Regions from separate parts of the Homo sapiens genome. Here region 2 is linked to region 1. The links are contacts of gene promoters, found by promoter capture Hi-C in human tissues and cell types (Jung and others, 2019). All regions are on one chromosome and are shown on one strand. Each heading gives the region's core, a stretch centred on a gene start or on the middle of the fragment in contact. The rest is flanking DNA. Distances are from core to core; before and after follow the strand shown.

The links. The method cuts DNA at HindIII sites, captures the fragments that hold promoters and counts their contacts. A contact is called where the count stands out against the background at its distance.
Region 2: a contact is called between a fragment that was not itself captured here and the fragment with the promoter of SOWAHD in region 1, in 3 of the 25 tissues and cell types used here (lymphoblastoid cells, mesenchymal stem cells and pancreas).

The regions. Positions count from the first base shown.
Region 1 is chrX:119,754,615-119,762,082 of GRCh38, forward strand. SOWAHD (sosondowah ankyrin repeat domain family member D) reads left to right here and starts at 3,974. Exons shown (of 1, transcript NM_001105576.3): 1 at 3,974-5,588. The coding sequence starts at 4,054. The coding sequence ends at 5,001. RefSeq lists enhancers at 1,498-1,557, 1,568-1,767, 5,835-5,904, 5,915-5,984 and silencers at 3,724-3,873, 3,984-4,283. The HindIII fragment of the contact is 4,543 bases long and covers 2,917-7,459 here.
Region 2 is chrX:119,653,243-119,660,710 of GRCh38, forward strand. All of the region lies in intron 3 of SEPTIN6 (septin 6), which reads right to left. Among named protein-coding and RNA genes, the nearest start is that of MIR766, 10 kb to the left of the region's middle. RefSeq lists an enhancer at 2,239-2,288. The HindIII fragment of the contact is 5,028 bases long and covers 1,803-6,830 here.

The sequences.
Region 1 (7,468 bases), core at 2,724-5,223:
CTGGAACCCCAAGAATGTTCCAGCCGTGTGTGGTGGCTCACACCACCGGGTGTGGTGGGAGGCCAAGGTGGGTGGATCACTTGGGGCCAGGAGTTCGAGACCAGCCTGGCCAACATGGTAAAACCCCGTCTCTACTAAAAATACAAAATTTAGCTGAGAATGGTGGTGCACGTCTGTAATCCCAGCTACTCAGGAGGCTGAGGCATGAGAATCACTTGAACCAGAGAGGCGGAGGTTGCAGTGAGCCGAGATCACACCACACTGCACTCCAGCCTAGGCAACAGATGGGACTCCGTCTCAAAAAAAAAGAAAGAAAGAAAAAAAAAAGAATGTTCCCCATTCCCTCCATGACCGAGGGTTATGGACGCCTGAGGGACTTTACTTCCCATATTCCACACATCTGCTTCTCAACTGTTTTGCACTCATGGATTTTTCTGAATCCATAAGCCCCCGGGGCAAACTCCATTGAGAGCCCAAGGATACACCAGCATTTGGCTTCGCCCAAGGAGCATGTTTCTGAGAAGTTTCATGTAAATTAAATTTTTGCAGATCAACTATGATTTCCTACTGACATCCCCTAAGATTTCTGAGCTGCTCTCTTCATCAAGATAGATTTTCAGTGTACGCCTAACACATCAGCTTCTCTGTTCCTCTGCCTTCTGCCATGCTCCCTGAGTTAGTTAAACCTCATCTGGAAAATAAAGGCCAATGAAACATTAAGATCTCTTCTAGTTCTTTTTTTTTTTTTTTTTTTGAGACGGAGTCTCGCTCTGTCACCCACACTACAGTGCAGTGGCGTGATCTCAGCTCACTGCAAGCTCCACCTCCCGGGTTCACGCCATTCTCCTGCCTCAGCCTCCCGAGTAGCTGGGACTACCCACCACCACGGCCGGCTAAGTTTTCGTATTTTTTAGTAGAGACGGGGTTTCACCGTGTTAGCCAGGATGGTCTCGATCTCCTGACCTCGTGATCAGCCTGCCTCGGCCTCCCAAAGTATTGGGATTACAGGCATGAGCCACCGCGCCCAGCCGATCTCTTCTAGTTCTAATAGTCCAAGATCTAGTAAATAAACCCACAAATATATTAGAGAGGCTGCTATTTGGAAAAGACATCAGTATTATTACAATTTGCAATGCAAATATCTACTCTACCTCCAGCTTTTTGGGAAGTCATTTCCCAGGGCTTGAGGGGTTTTTGCCCCACTCCCTTGGAGGGGTAGCAGATGTTTCAGATAACTGGCATGTTAATTTTAGGTGGGTGGGTACTATCCCTTCTGTTTTCCACTCCCTCTGCCCTACTCCCTGCTATCAAATTCCTGAGACCCTCTCTACTAAAATAGAGATGGGTGTTGCGGTTCTGGGGAGTGGTGTGTGCAGCTGGTGACCTAGGGTAGAAAGCACTTGCTAATTAAAGATGAAACAAGTTGCTAGGGAGGCACCGTGGCTTTGGTCTCTAGCAGCAGAGTTAAGCAAGGGCACATGTATCATGGGTCTGTGGCACTGGTCAGGCGGCTGCCTTTGCAATCTTTGAACTGGAAACAGATATTATTCATGCTGATAGGGAAGAGAGTTGCCTGCTTAGTGGTGACGAAAATTAATAGTCCAAGCATTCTTCCATCCTGCATTTTCCATGCTGGCATTTTGACTTAAAAAAAAATATTGCTGCAGCTGTTTGCATATTCTGGAAGTGTGTGTGCCTGTGTGCGGTTTGGTGTTTACAGATCTGGGGTTGCGGAGAGGAGTCTCCAGAGCAACGGAAGTAGCTGCTTGTCAGTCAGGATTCATTTTGAAAATGAAAGCCTGAAAGCTTGGGGCCCATTCTGGGCCTAGGCCTGGTCTCTGAGAAGTCAGCGAAGGCCAGGAGGTGGCTTTGGCCAGTCAACTCAGTGAATAAACCACTGAATCTCTTTTAAAGAAAAATGAATTGACCAAATCTATGAGTTGCTTTTGATGTCCTGCAGATTGGAGTCTGGAGCAGGGATGTGGGAGCAGGCATTGAGGTGCTGATTGTGGATACATGTCCCCCGCCCCCAACATACACACACACAATCACATTTTCCCAGCCTGCCAAACCAGAACAAGGTAACAAATATTTCTTGGATAACTACTAGGTGCACAAGGATAGTATGACATAGCTGTCCAAGAGTTTATAGTTTAATTGGCATATGAGAGCAAGGGGAGAGAGATGTAACACAAGGCAGTCTTGGGGCCAAAGAAGTAGCAGAAACACAGGGCTGGGGAAAGAGAGGGATCACTTTGGGCTGGGATAATCAGAGGAGGCTTGCTAGAGGTGGAAACTAAGCGCAACCTTGAAAGAAAAGAACTTCACTACATAGAAGCTCTTCCAGGCAGAGGAGTGTAAGTTATAGATACGCTCACGTTACAAGTCTATCCTTTTGGCTGGAATTTGGGGCTTGTATGTGATTTGCAGTTGATAAGCCAGGCTTGAATGCCAGTTCCTGTGTACCAGAACAAAGGCTATGGTGTCGCACAGACCTGCTCTGCCACTTCCTGCTGGGTGACCTTGAGCAAGTAGCCTAACCTCTCTGCAAACTGGGGACAGTAATGATTCCCAGCACTTGAGGTCACTGGGAGGATTAAAAGAGTTAACATATATAACGCAACAAGCACAGTGCCTGGCACATAGTAAATGTTCAAAACCAAATTACAAATGCATAAACTGTTCTGAAGGAAAGCTCTAGATATTTAGGACTTGTTCCAAATACGTGAGGGCCAAGGAAGAAAAGCTTCCGATACCTTCTATCACTGCTGCCACAGGTGGCCCCGAGGGAGTGGGCTGATTTGGCCTGAGCCTCCATCCCCCTTGGCCTAGACTGCTGGAACAGTCTTCCGACTTCCTGCCTCTGCACCTCCCAAATCACCTTTTTAACACAACCTCCATCATGGCTGTGTCTCTCCCCGGCTCAACAATCTTCTATGGCTCCCCGTTGCTCACTGACTGAGCTCCTTAAGATGCTGGGGGTGTGGAGGCAAGAACCACTATTTACTAAGGGAAGGGAAGAGCAAAGAGTACGCTGGTATTAGGAGTGAAAAAGAAAAAATATCCTTTTTTAAAAAGCCCCTAAGCTTTGAATTTGTAGAAAGCGGGGCCCTGGGGAGAGAGCAGGGATGCATCTCTAAAGAGAACAGGGCGCTCCTGCGGCGCCGGCTCAGATTCACCTGTAGCTGCTTCTCCAAGCCAACCTGGGAAAATTGACGGGAGGGAAGAGGGTGGAGAGCAGGACAGAGAGGGCGGTGCAGAAGGGGAATATCCCTCCTGAGTTCCCTGGAAGAGCGTCAGCCTGGACCCTGGTCTTGGGCTTCTCTGCTGGAATCCTGGGCAGCCCCGGGTGCTGCGGCGAGGGTCAAGGCCACACAAAGGGCAAGGCAGGCAGACGAGCCAGTCACATGGGGCAGTCGAGCTGCCTGCGTGAATGCTAGGCGCGGGACAATGGCAACTCCGGGACAAAGTGCAGGGAGACTCCTGAAGAGATAAGAGGGAAGGGCGAAGGAAGGGGGCGGGGAGCCAGAGCCTCGGAGCTCCAGGACCGCGCTTTGGGAGACCGTGGCTGGAAGCCGAGCTCGGCCCGCTGCGGAAGGGGCGCCCTCGCGCCTCTACACTCTAGCCCCGGCTGGGATGCTGAGAACCGCGGCTTCCAGGGCCGCAGGCGAGCTCCCAGCCAGTCCCCGCGCCCGCCCTTCGGTGCTGGAGGCGGGGCTGCCGAGCTCACCTGGCCGTTTGGGGTGGGACCGCCCGCGACCCGGGGGAGCTGCAGAGGCGGCGGTACCCAGGGAAGTGGAGCTGGGCTTGCCCTGGGGACTTGGCTGGAGCTCACACCCCTCCACGCCCCCCAAGGCCTGCGCGGGGGCCCTCCCCTAGCTCCCTCCCTCCTCCTCCTCCTCCTCCTCCTCCTCTCCTTTGCTCCCTCCCTCCGAACCCAATTGCTCAAGCAGCTTCCTTCCCCAACGCCAGCGCCAGTTCCTCTCCCGTTGGGGCCCGGGAAGGGCAGCTAACGCTGGACACTGGGACGGCCGCGGCGGCAGCTTCAAGACCATGGCCCAGCTCGGAGGGGCCGCGAACCGGGCACCCACGGCCTCTCTCGCGCCGACCTCGCAGAGCCTGCGGTGCGCCCCGCAGCCCCGCCCCTCGAGAGCGGACACTGGTAGCCTGGGCAGGTACTGGGGCAAAGCCGCAGCCGCCGCCTCCCGGGAGCACCCCTTCCCAGGCACGCTGATGCACTCTGCAGCGGGCTCAGGGCGCCGGCGGGGAGCGCTGCGGGAACTGCTGGGGCTGCAGCGGGCGGCTCCTGCGGGGTGGCTGTCGGAGGAGCGCGCCGAGGAGCTGGGCGGGCCGAGTGGGCCGGGCAGCAGCAGGCTGTGCCTGGAACCGCGGGAGCACGCGTGGATTCTGGCAGCCGCCGAGGGCCGCTATGAGGTGCTGCGGGAGCTGCTGGAGGCTGAGCCGGAGCTGCTGCTGCGGGGCGACCCGATCACCGGCTACTCGGTTCTGCACTGGCTGGCCAAGCACGGGCGCCACGAGGAGCTCATTCTGGTACACGATTTCGCCCTACGCCGGGGGCTGAGGCTCGACGTGAGCGCCCCAGGCAGCGGCGGCCTCACGCCCCTCCACCTGGCGGCCCTTCAGGGCCACGACATGGTCATCAAGGTGCTGGTGGGCGCCCTGGGTGCTGACGCTACGCGCCGCGACCACAGCGGCCACCGGGCCTGCCACTACCTGCGGCCCGACGCGCCTTGGAGGTTGCGGGAGCTGTCGGGAGCCGAGGAATGGGAGATGGAGAGCGGCAGCGGGTGCACCAACCTGAACAACAACAGCAGTGGCACCACTGCGTGGAGGGCCGCGAGCGCAGTGGGCGCGACGGCTGTGGAGACAAGCAGGAGAGTGGCAGCGTCGCGGACCAAGGCGAAGGACACCGCGGGCAGCCGGGTGGCGCAAATGCATAGCCTTTTCCGCCATCTGTTCCCCTCATTCCAGGACCGTTGACAGGGACAGAGACTGGAGAGCTAGGAGGGGCTGTGACACTGTGGCGATGGCTAGGTCCTGGGTTGTCCCGGGTTCCACCGAAGGAGAGGCGCCTTGGACGCTGCTTGGGCCTGCAAGGAACAGAACACGTCGGGGTCCGACTCAGGTACTTGTCTCAGGTCTCCTGTAACCACCGGCCTGGAGGACCCGGGGACTCGGGCACCACCTCACCAAGAGAGAGTGAAGGACCAAGCTGGCCTGGCTCCGAGTTCCAAAGCTACAGGACTAAGGAGTTGGGAGCAGGGAGCGTGGTCCTGCTTGGGAGAGGGCAAGTTAAGCTTCCAGGGGCCATTTCTGGGCAGGCCGACGCGCTGGGTTTATTAGGAAACATTCGCTAGAAGAATGAGTTAAGATTGTAAACCACCAATGCAGAGAAAACGCCTAACTCTGCCGGCCTCGCTCGGCCATTAATGGGTCTTGGGGTGCGGGTAGAGTCAGCCTCTGACAACCTCCTCCTGAGACGACCCAGCCTTACTGGTACTTTTTCTCATGTATCACAGGTTACTTCTTATGTATATTAAAGTGGAATATGTGTTCTTTTCACATGACAAGGCTGTCCTTTCAGTGTTTTCCCCCACCTCCCTTACTAACCACAAAGGAAGAAACTGCATATGTTTGCAGGGTAGAGGTCACCCAACCATGGCCGTGATGTTGTGCCCCCCGGGGCAGGCTCTGGGCCTCCTTCTCAGAACAAATGGCCAGAGCTGTGCACAGAAGAAGCTACTTCCACTTGGATCTGAGGAGAAACATACAGTTCACCTCTGTCCTGAGCTCTTTGATGGTCTGGCCTCAGGCACCAGCCTCATCCTAGAAGAGTTGTCATATAGGGGCCTTGGGTTGGGGGTAAAAGGCAAAAGTTTCCAAATTTACATTTCTGATATTTCCACGGTCAGTCATGTAATTTACCTTGATTTGTGGCCTCTAATGAGACACACCCACGGGCACTTTTTTTTTTCCAAGATGGGGCTTTCCTCAGTAGCATTTATTTATTTATTTTTGAAATGGAGTCTCACTCTGTCACCCAGACTGGAGTGCAGTGGCGCAATCTTGACTCATCGCAACCTCTGCCTCCCGGGTTCAAGCAATTCTCCTGCCTCAGCCTCCCAAATAGCTACAGGCACCCGCCACCACGCCCGGCTGATTTTTTTTTTTTTTTTTTTTTTTTGGTATTTTTAGTAGAGACGGGGTTTCACTATGTTGGCTGGGCTGGTCTCGAACTCCTGACCTAGTGATCCGCCTGCCTCAGCCTCCCAAAGTGCTGGGATTACAGGCATGAGCCACCACGCCCAGCCAGCAGCATTTATTTATTATTACTGTTTTTTGAGACAGAGTCTCACTCTGTCGCCCAGGCTGGAGTGCAATGGCGTGATCTAGGCTCACTGCAACCTCTGCCTCCTGGGTTCAAGCGATTCTCCTACCTCAGCCTCCCAAGTAGCTGGGATTACAGACGTGCACCACCACGCCTGGCTAATTTTTGTATTTGTAGTAATGATGGGGTTTCGCCATGTTGGTCAGGCTGGTCTCGAACTCCTAACCTCAAGTGTTCCCCTGCCTCAGCCTCCCAAAGTGCTGGGATTACAGACACGAGCCACCACACCTGCTCAGCAGCATTTAAAAAATTAAGTTTAAGGCTGGGTGTGGTGGCTCACAGCTGTAATCCCAGCACTTTGGGAGGTTGAGGCAGGAGGATCCCTTGGGCCCAGGAGTTCTAGACCAGCCTGGGCAATATAGGGAGACCCTGTCTCTACAAAAATATACAAAAATTAGCCAGTTGTAGTGGTGCAGGCCTGTAGTCCCAGCTACTAGAGAAGCTGAGGTGGGAGGATTGCTTGAGCCTGGGAGGTGGAGGCTGCAGTGAGTAAAGCATTCCACTGCACTCCAGCCTGGGTGACAGAGTGGGACCCTATCTCAATAAATATATATATTTCACTTACGTAAAATTCTTTTTAAAAAGTTAAGTTTAATGCATAAATTGTAGCTTGCAAAATTGCTCCCATTCAGAAATGGCATGAATTAAATAGACTACAGGAGGGTTGACTGAGCCTGAAAGGCCAGGAAAGCAGTTGCTGGCTACAGACCCATGCTGCCTTGGAGAACAGTGCATTTTAAAAATAGCACTGTATCCCTGAAGGCTTGGGTAGCCCTTGCAATGGACTGTCGCGTTCCCCAGCCCTCTCATCCCAGTCCGTGAACACCAGCCAGAAACAGTCACCACTAACAAACAGCCCAGAAACGCCACCCTGAGCCCATCCATCCAGGTTTCCATCTCTGCCTGGTGGGCCTGTTTGCTTCTGTGCTCAAAACTTTCCTACTTTCCTTTATTTTTTATTTTTGAGATGGCGTCTCACTCTTACCCAGTCTGGAGTACCGTGGCAACGATCATAGCTCATTGCAGCCTCAAACACCTGGGCTCTGGTGAACCTCCTGC
Region 2 (7,468 bases), core at 3,067-5,566, 100 kb before region 1:
GTGCACCTTCACTAGAATGCCCCTTTCTCTCTCCTCATCCCAATTCTGCCCTCCCAGACCTCAGGGCTCAGCTTAATGTCCTCCTCCTTCCTACGGCCTTCCCCACTTATGCCAGAAATCCCTTCTGCGAGTCAGGGGCATAACAAGAAATGGCATTCAATTACTTATTGTTGCTTCACAAGGATTCTCTCAAATAGATTGTGCCTTCCTAAAGAGCAGGGCCTGTGAAGGGCACTTGTCTGTCCCTCGGGGGGCCCCAACACAGCATGGAGCCCACTGGCTGTATCTGTAGAGGGACTGATTTTCCTCCAAGCTGGGCTCATGTCTTTGCTCCCTTTATCTCGCCCTACAGTGCCTAGATGAGAGCTGGGTACACAGTGGGTAACAAGACCTCTCTTTGGCCCACTGCTGGGCAATCTTGTGAGAACATTCAGGGCTTTTGCTCATTCTCGCTAGGTTTAGCGGAGCTCCACACTTGGCTCCCCCAAGGTCAAGATATTTTTCTGATTCTCATTTCTGCCAAGGTGGTGACTTTAAGTATTCAGGCCAGGCACAGTGGATCATGGCTCGTAATCCCAGCACTTTGGGAGGCTGAGACGGGCGGATCTTCTGAGCTCAGGATTCGAGACCAGCCTGGGCAACACGGCAAAACTTCGTCTCTACTAAAAATACAAAAATTAGCCAGCTGTGGTAGCTCATGCCTGTAATCCCAGCTACTCAGGAGGCTGAGGCAGGAGAATCGCTTGAACCCGGAAGGCAGAGGTTGCAGTGAGTGGAGATCATGCCACTGCACTCCAGCCTGGGCAACAGAGTGAGACCCCATCTCCAAAAACAAACAAACAAACAAACAAAGTATTCAGGCAAAATCTGGTAAAGCTACTCCCCTCCGCACACCCTGCACACATGGACACAGGCCCGCCAGCTCACTGAGTCTCCACACGCGGCTCCTCTAGGTGGCCCCCAAGTCTTGCCAAGGCTTCTTAAACAACAGTCAGCCCTCTATGTCTCTCTTTCCTGGGCCTCCCTGGGAAACTTCCCTCTCCCTCTGTCCCAGTCCCCTCCCACGTCATCCCCGTCACCCCTACGGCCTCTTTCTGCTCTAACTAGGTCAGCTTAGCTCAGCTCTGCCTCTTGTTCTCATCTCCCCTGTCTGTCTGCTGCCTCTCTGGCTGAGGGGGTGCCTCCCTTCAGGCTAGAAGAGGCTTGTCATGTGGGCCCAGGGCAGGGAGTTTTCAGATACCGCTGCCAGAAGGGAACATGATGATCAAAGGAGGAGCTGAGCCCAGCCAATGCCTCCCACCTGCAGCAGCTCCCAGGCTGAGCCTTTCTGAAAGATCCCCCTAGTAGAGAAGGGGAAAATAGCCTTTTAAGAAAGAATCACAGGATCCTAGATTCTGAGAGCTGCAGCCAGAGCTGAGATCCAGGTGCAGGCTATCTCTGGAGCCCCAGAGAAAAATCTTTTTTTTTAAGATGGAGTTTCGCTCTGTTGCCCGGGCAGGAGTGCAGTGGTGCGATCTCCACTCACTGCAACCTCTGCCTCCCAAGCCCCAGAGAAAACTCTAAAAACATAGTCCTTTCTTTATTCCTTTGATCCCTCCGAGCCACTGTTCCGAAGGGTAATCGCATCAAAGAATCTCTTGGTTGCAAAGATCCTTAGAAGGTTCCTGACGAATTTGGAGTGAGGGTGGGGAATGTATCCCCTAGGCTTATTTAATTAATTTTTGGATGTTTTGCTGATTTGAAATAGTTGATGATGGCACTGCTTCATTTTTTTTCTCAATTACGTAATTTTTTTTTACTTCATTTTTTGCTTTGCAGAAGGAATCAGAGGAAAGAAAATAAAGCTAAAAAGTGCATTTTTTAGCTCCCCCACACACCCCGAAATCTGTAGTGATACCCTGTGCCTGTCTTACTGCAATTGCCTCTGGCTCTCGGAAGCTCTCAAGATGTACATGGATCAGACCAGCCAAACCAGCCAATCAGCCACCAGGATTTGGTGTAGACGAATCCTAAATGGGTGGCTTATCTTCGTCTTATTCATCTCTGTATCCTCCACGTCTAGCCTGCTGTCTGGAACATAGTAAAGTTTCCGCTACTGCTCTGCATTCCCTCCACCCCCAGGCCCCAGTGACTCATCTTCCCACGGTGGCCACCTCTCTCCCACACTCTGTTGTGCTGCTCACTGGACTCCAGTGGGTGGTAAACAAAATCCTTTACTCTTATAGGCTACCTCCTCCCAAACTGCTTCCTTCCTCTAAGTGACACCTGACTATCCTTCAGAGATGCTGCTTTTCTCATATCCTTCTCAACTGGAAATTTCTTCATCTCCACACCCAAGTCCCATGGAAGGGCAGAGAGGGCAGCTTTCTTCTAGCTCTTGATTCCCTCGCTCACTGTGATCTCCTCATCTCCTCCATTTTCGACCAAAACCAGCTCCAACAGACTCCATCCCTCCCCATCACTACTGATAATCTTTGACATTTCAAGACAGCCGTTCTTAACACAGGGTTCATGGACCTCCTAGGTTCTGTGAATAGAATTCAGAGGATCTGTGAACTTAGATAGGAAAAAAATACATCTTTTTCACTAATCTCTAACTGAAGTTTAGCAGTTTCTTCAGCTGCAGACATAGGTAACAATCTATAGTAATGTTAGCAGTACCTGTGATTTCATAACCAATAGAAATCACTGATATCATCATTTCCCATTCCAGTTGTTGTAAATAGCTCAAAATAGCATTTATACTCATTACAACATTCAAATTCTGGTAATTATTAAGCCTGCATATAGATATTATTACTTCTGGAATTGATAGAGAAGCACATGGATTGCTAAGTCACAATTTTTAAATATTTTAGTAACTGTATTTTTAGTATACTTGGTATATTTTAGGCATTTAAAAACATTATTTTGAGAATGAGCCCATAGGCCTCACTAGATTGCTAACGGGGCCAATGGCACAAAATAACCCCTGGTCTAGACAATAATACTTATTCATTTCGGATAATGATATGTACTATGAAGATACTCCAATAGGATAATGGGATATACATGTGATTGAGGGTTCAACTACTTTAAATACAGTGATCAGGGAAGGCTTCTCTAAGGGTGTGACATTTGAGCCGCAAGGATGAGGATGACAGAGCCATGGAGAGATCTGGGTGAAGAGCATTCCAGGCAGTGGGAATAATAAATGTGAGGATGGTTCTGAGGCAGAAACCAGTCTGACAGGTTTGAGCAATGGGAAGACGGCCAGGGAGGTGGGACTTGGTGAACCCAGCTTGAGTAAATTATTCACAGTAGCCCAAAGGTGGAAACAACCCAAATGTCCATCAACTGATGACCGGATAAAGAAAATGTGGAGGCCAGGCGCAGTGGCTCACGCCTGTAATCCCAGCACTTTGGGAGACCAAGGTGGGCGGATCACGAGGTCAGGAGTTCGAGACCAGCCTGATCAACAGGGTGAAACCCCGTCTCTACTAAAAATATAATAATTAGCTGGGCATGGTGGCGTGCGCCTGTAATCCCAGCTACTCAGAAGGCTGAGGCAGGAGAATTGCTTGAACCGAGGAGGCGGAGGTTGCGGTGAGCCAAGATTGAGGCACTGCACTCCAGCCTGGGCGACAGAGTGAGACTCCGTCTCAAAAAATAATTAAATAAATAAAATAAAATAAAGAAAATGTGAAAATGTGGAGGCCAGGTGGGGTGGCTCACACCCATAATCTCAGCACTTTGGGAGGCCGAGGCAGGCGGATTACCTGAGGTCAGGAGTTCGAGACCAGCCCTGCCAACACAGTGAAACCCCGTCTCTACTAAAAATACAAAAATTAGCCAGGCATGGTGGTAGGCACCTGTAGTCCCAGCTACTCGGGAGGCTGAGGCAGGAGAATTGCTTGAACCTGGGAGGCGGAGGTTGCAGTGAGCCGAGATCGCACCACTGCACTCCAGCCTGGGCAACGGAGTGAGATTCCGTCTCAAAAAAAAAAAAAACAAAACAAAAAAACTGTGCCTTATTTCTTAGTATCTCTGACACTTCACACTGTACTTGTCACATAGTAGACATTTAAGTTTATAAAGTGGACTAGGTTTCCACGGCAACTTGGTTCTCAGTCTTGTCAATTCTCTCAAATCTGCCCCTCCTCTCTATCCTCAAAGCTTCTCTTCCTGTTCAAGCCCTCATCATCTCTCCCATCCTCAAGAGTTGCCCCTGACCTCCTTGTCCCCCTCTAGACATGGCCTTGTGTATTTCTCCCAGCTCAGACAAGCTTTCTTTTTTATCTATTTTTTAGAGACGAGGCCTCGCTCTATTGCCCATGCTGGAGAACAATGGCATGATCATAGCTCACTGTGACCTCGAACTCATGAGCTCAAGCGATTCTCCTGCCTCAGCCTTCTGAGTATCTGGGACTACAGGCACACACCACCACACCTGGCTAATTTTTTATTTTTGTGTAGAGACGGGGTCTCTTTATGTTATCCAGGCTGGTCCTGAACTTTTGGGCTCAAGTGATCCTTCTACCTTGGCCCCACAAAGTGTTGGGATTAGAGGTAAGAGCCACCGCGCTTAACCTAAATTTATTTATGCAAGAACACCTATTCTCGACCGGGTGCGGTGGCTCACGCCTGTAATCCCAGCACTTTGGGAGGCCGAGGCAGGCGGATCATGAGGTCAGGAAATCAAGACCATCCTGGCTAACACGGTGAAACCCCGTCTCTACTAAAAATACAAAAAAAATTAGCCGGGCGTGGTGGTGGGCGCCTGTAGTCCCAGCTACTCGGGCGGCTGAGGCAGGAGAATGGCGTGAACCCGGGAGGCGGAGCTTGCAGTAAGCCGAGATAGCGCCACTGCACTCCCGTCTGGGCAACAGTGCGAAAGTCCGTCTCAAAAAAATAAAAAAGAATACCGATTCTTCCTTCCTCACAGATAACCTCTATTTTCAGTTTGCTGATTATCTTTCCAGACCTTTTTCTATGCATCTACGCACATAAATAGAGAGAAATATTTGTGGTTTTATTGGAGGGAGGGGGGCAGATTTACAGACACCGCATCGTGATCATTCTGCAACTTCTTTTTTTCACTTAACAACATATCCTGAGATCTAGCCATGTGAGTATATATCGATCTACCTCATTCTATTAAACTGCCAAACACAATTCCATGGTATGGTAATTCCACAGTTTATTTAATTGCTCTGTTGGTAGAAATTTAGACTGTTTAAATTGTTTTTCATTCAATAACCAAAGCTACAGTGAACATGCTTTCTCTATGCTTCTCAGGAGCATGTGCAACTGTTTCTCTAGGCTGTATACTTAAAAGGTGGAACTGCTGGGTCATAAATTATTCACATTTAAAATTTTAATAGATACTGCCAAATTTGCCCTCCAAGAAGTCTATATCAATTTACAGTCCCATCAACGTGAATGAAATTACCTCGTGTTAGTGGATATTATACCATCCTTTTGTTTTTGCAGATCTGATGGATAAAAAATATTTGTTTCATTTTGCATTTCTTTAATTACTGGGGAAGTTGAATGACCATCATTTCATATGTTGATTGTACATAAGTATTTCCCCTTCTGTAAATTATTTGTTTATTTCTCATTGAATTGTAGAAGCTCTTTTTCCATTTTAGAAGAATCCTTTGTCTGTTATTTAGGCAGCAAATATCTTCTCCCCATCTGTAGCTTGTTTGTACTTTTGTTTATGGTATCTTTCAATACAAAAGGGTTTTTTATTTTAATGAATTTAAATCCATCAGTCTTTTCTTCTATGACTTTTGAATTTTGTGTCATGATTGGAAAAGCCTTCTCTACCCCCAAAGTTATAAAAATATTCTCTGATGTTTTCTCCTTATATTTTTAGAAATCTGTTTTTAGTCCAATGGGAATCTATTTTTGTGAATGGTGTTTGTGTGAGAGGGTCTCGTTTTATTTTTTTCCTAAATAGATGGCCTATTTTCCCAGCATCATCTCCTGAATAGTCCATTCTTCCCCTGCTGACTTACATATGCTAAATTTCCATATGAGCAGGAATCTGGTCTTAGACTGACTTTTCTGTTCCATTGCTCTTTTTGCTCTTCTGATGCCTTTACATGCTTACTTTCCATTCACTCAGCAATCACGGTAATCTGGCTTCCACCCACAGTTCCCCTCGAATTATTATTCTGAAATGTATTACTGACCTTCATATCACCAAACCCAAAGAATATTTTGCAGTTCTCGTCTTCCTGGATACCATGTATCATTCCTTCCCATATACTACATGATTTAGCTGTTCCTTGATTCTTCTATCAATAAAAATCATGATCATAATATCTTCAGTTTATGAGGCAGTTACTCTGTGCCAGGTGTTTAAGCATTTCATATTCCACACATGTCAAATGTGCTTCACCACAACTCTCTAAGGTAGGTAGTATTATTATTATCATCCATCATTATCATCCCCATTTTACAGATGAGAAAACTGAGGCATAGAAAATTTAAGTACCTTGTTCAAGATCCCTGGGCTAAAAAGACAGCAAGATGAAATTTGAACCCAGGTCTGAGACCAAAGCCTAGGTTCCTAAGCACTCCCCTCTCCAGCTTGTCCTTCTCAGTCTCTCCCTTAAATCCCCTTTTCTCCAGCATCCTTTTTTATTTTTATTTTTTGAGATGGAGTCTCACTCTGTTGTCTAGGCTGGAGTGCCATGGCGCGATCTCAGCTCACTGCAACCGCCACCTTCCGGGTTCAAGCAATTCTTGTGCCTCAGCCTCCCGAGTAGCTGGGATTACAGGCACATACCACCATGCCCAGCTAATTTTTTGTATTTTTAGTAGAGACGGGGGTTTCACCATGTTGGCCAGGCTGGTCTTGAACTCCTGGCCTCAAGTGATCCACCCACCTTGGCCTTCCAAAGTGCTGGAATTACAGGCTTCAGCCACTGTGCCCTGCCTCCAGCATCCTTTAAATGGTAGCTTTCCGCAGTATCCGGCCTTAGTCATTCCTCTTCCTAGTTTATGCATGAGCCCTTGTAAAGCGGGATATTCTAATGCCTTGTTTCAATGATGCTTCACTGACATATCTATGCTAACATGGCCCTAACAGCATGAAGAAAACACTGCTTTTTATTACAGATCCCTGGAGCTTACTCCACCCCTGCTCCTCAGTGCAATTTCAAGGAGGCTTTTCATTTCTACTTATTTGATTTATTATAAGTATGTATCACATTTATAATCGGGAAGAAACAATAGGGATATCTTAAAACTATAACGGAAGTAGATTTGCCTCTGAGGCGCAGTATCTGTTCAGTCCTCCCAAGCCATTATTATCAAGGCATTGTCCAATGTTAGATATGTTGAATGTATGTAACTGAAAGAACTGTAAGAAATGTAATTGAAGTTTCTGAGCAATCTGCAGCTGAGATTAAGCACTCATATTGTGGCCCAAATATCCTTTCTCCAAAGTTTAATTTATTCTCAACCAAACAAG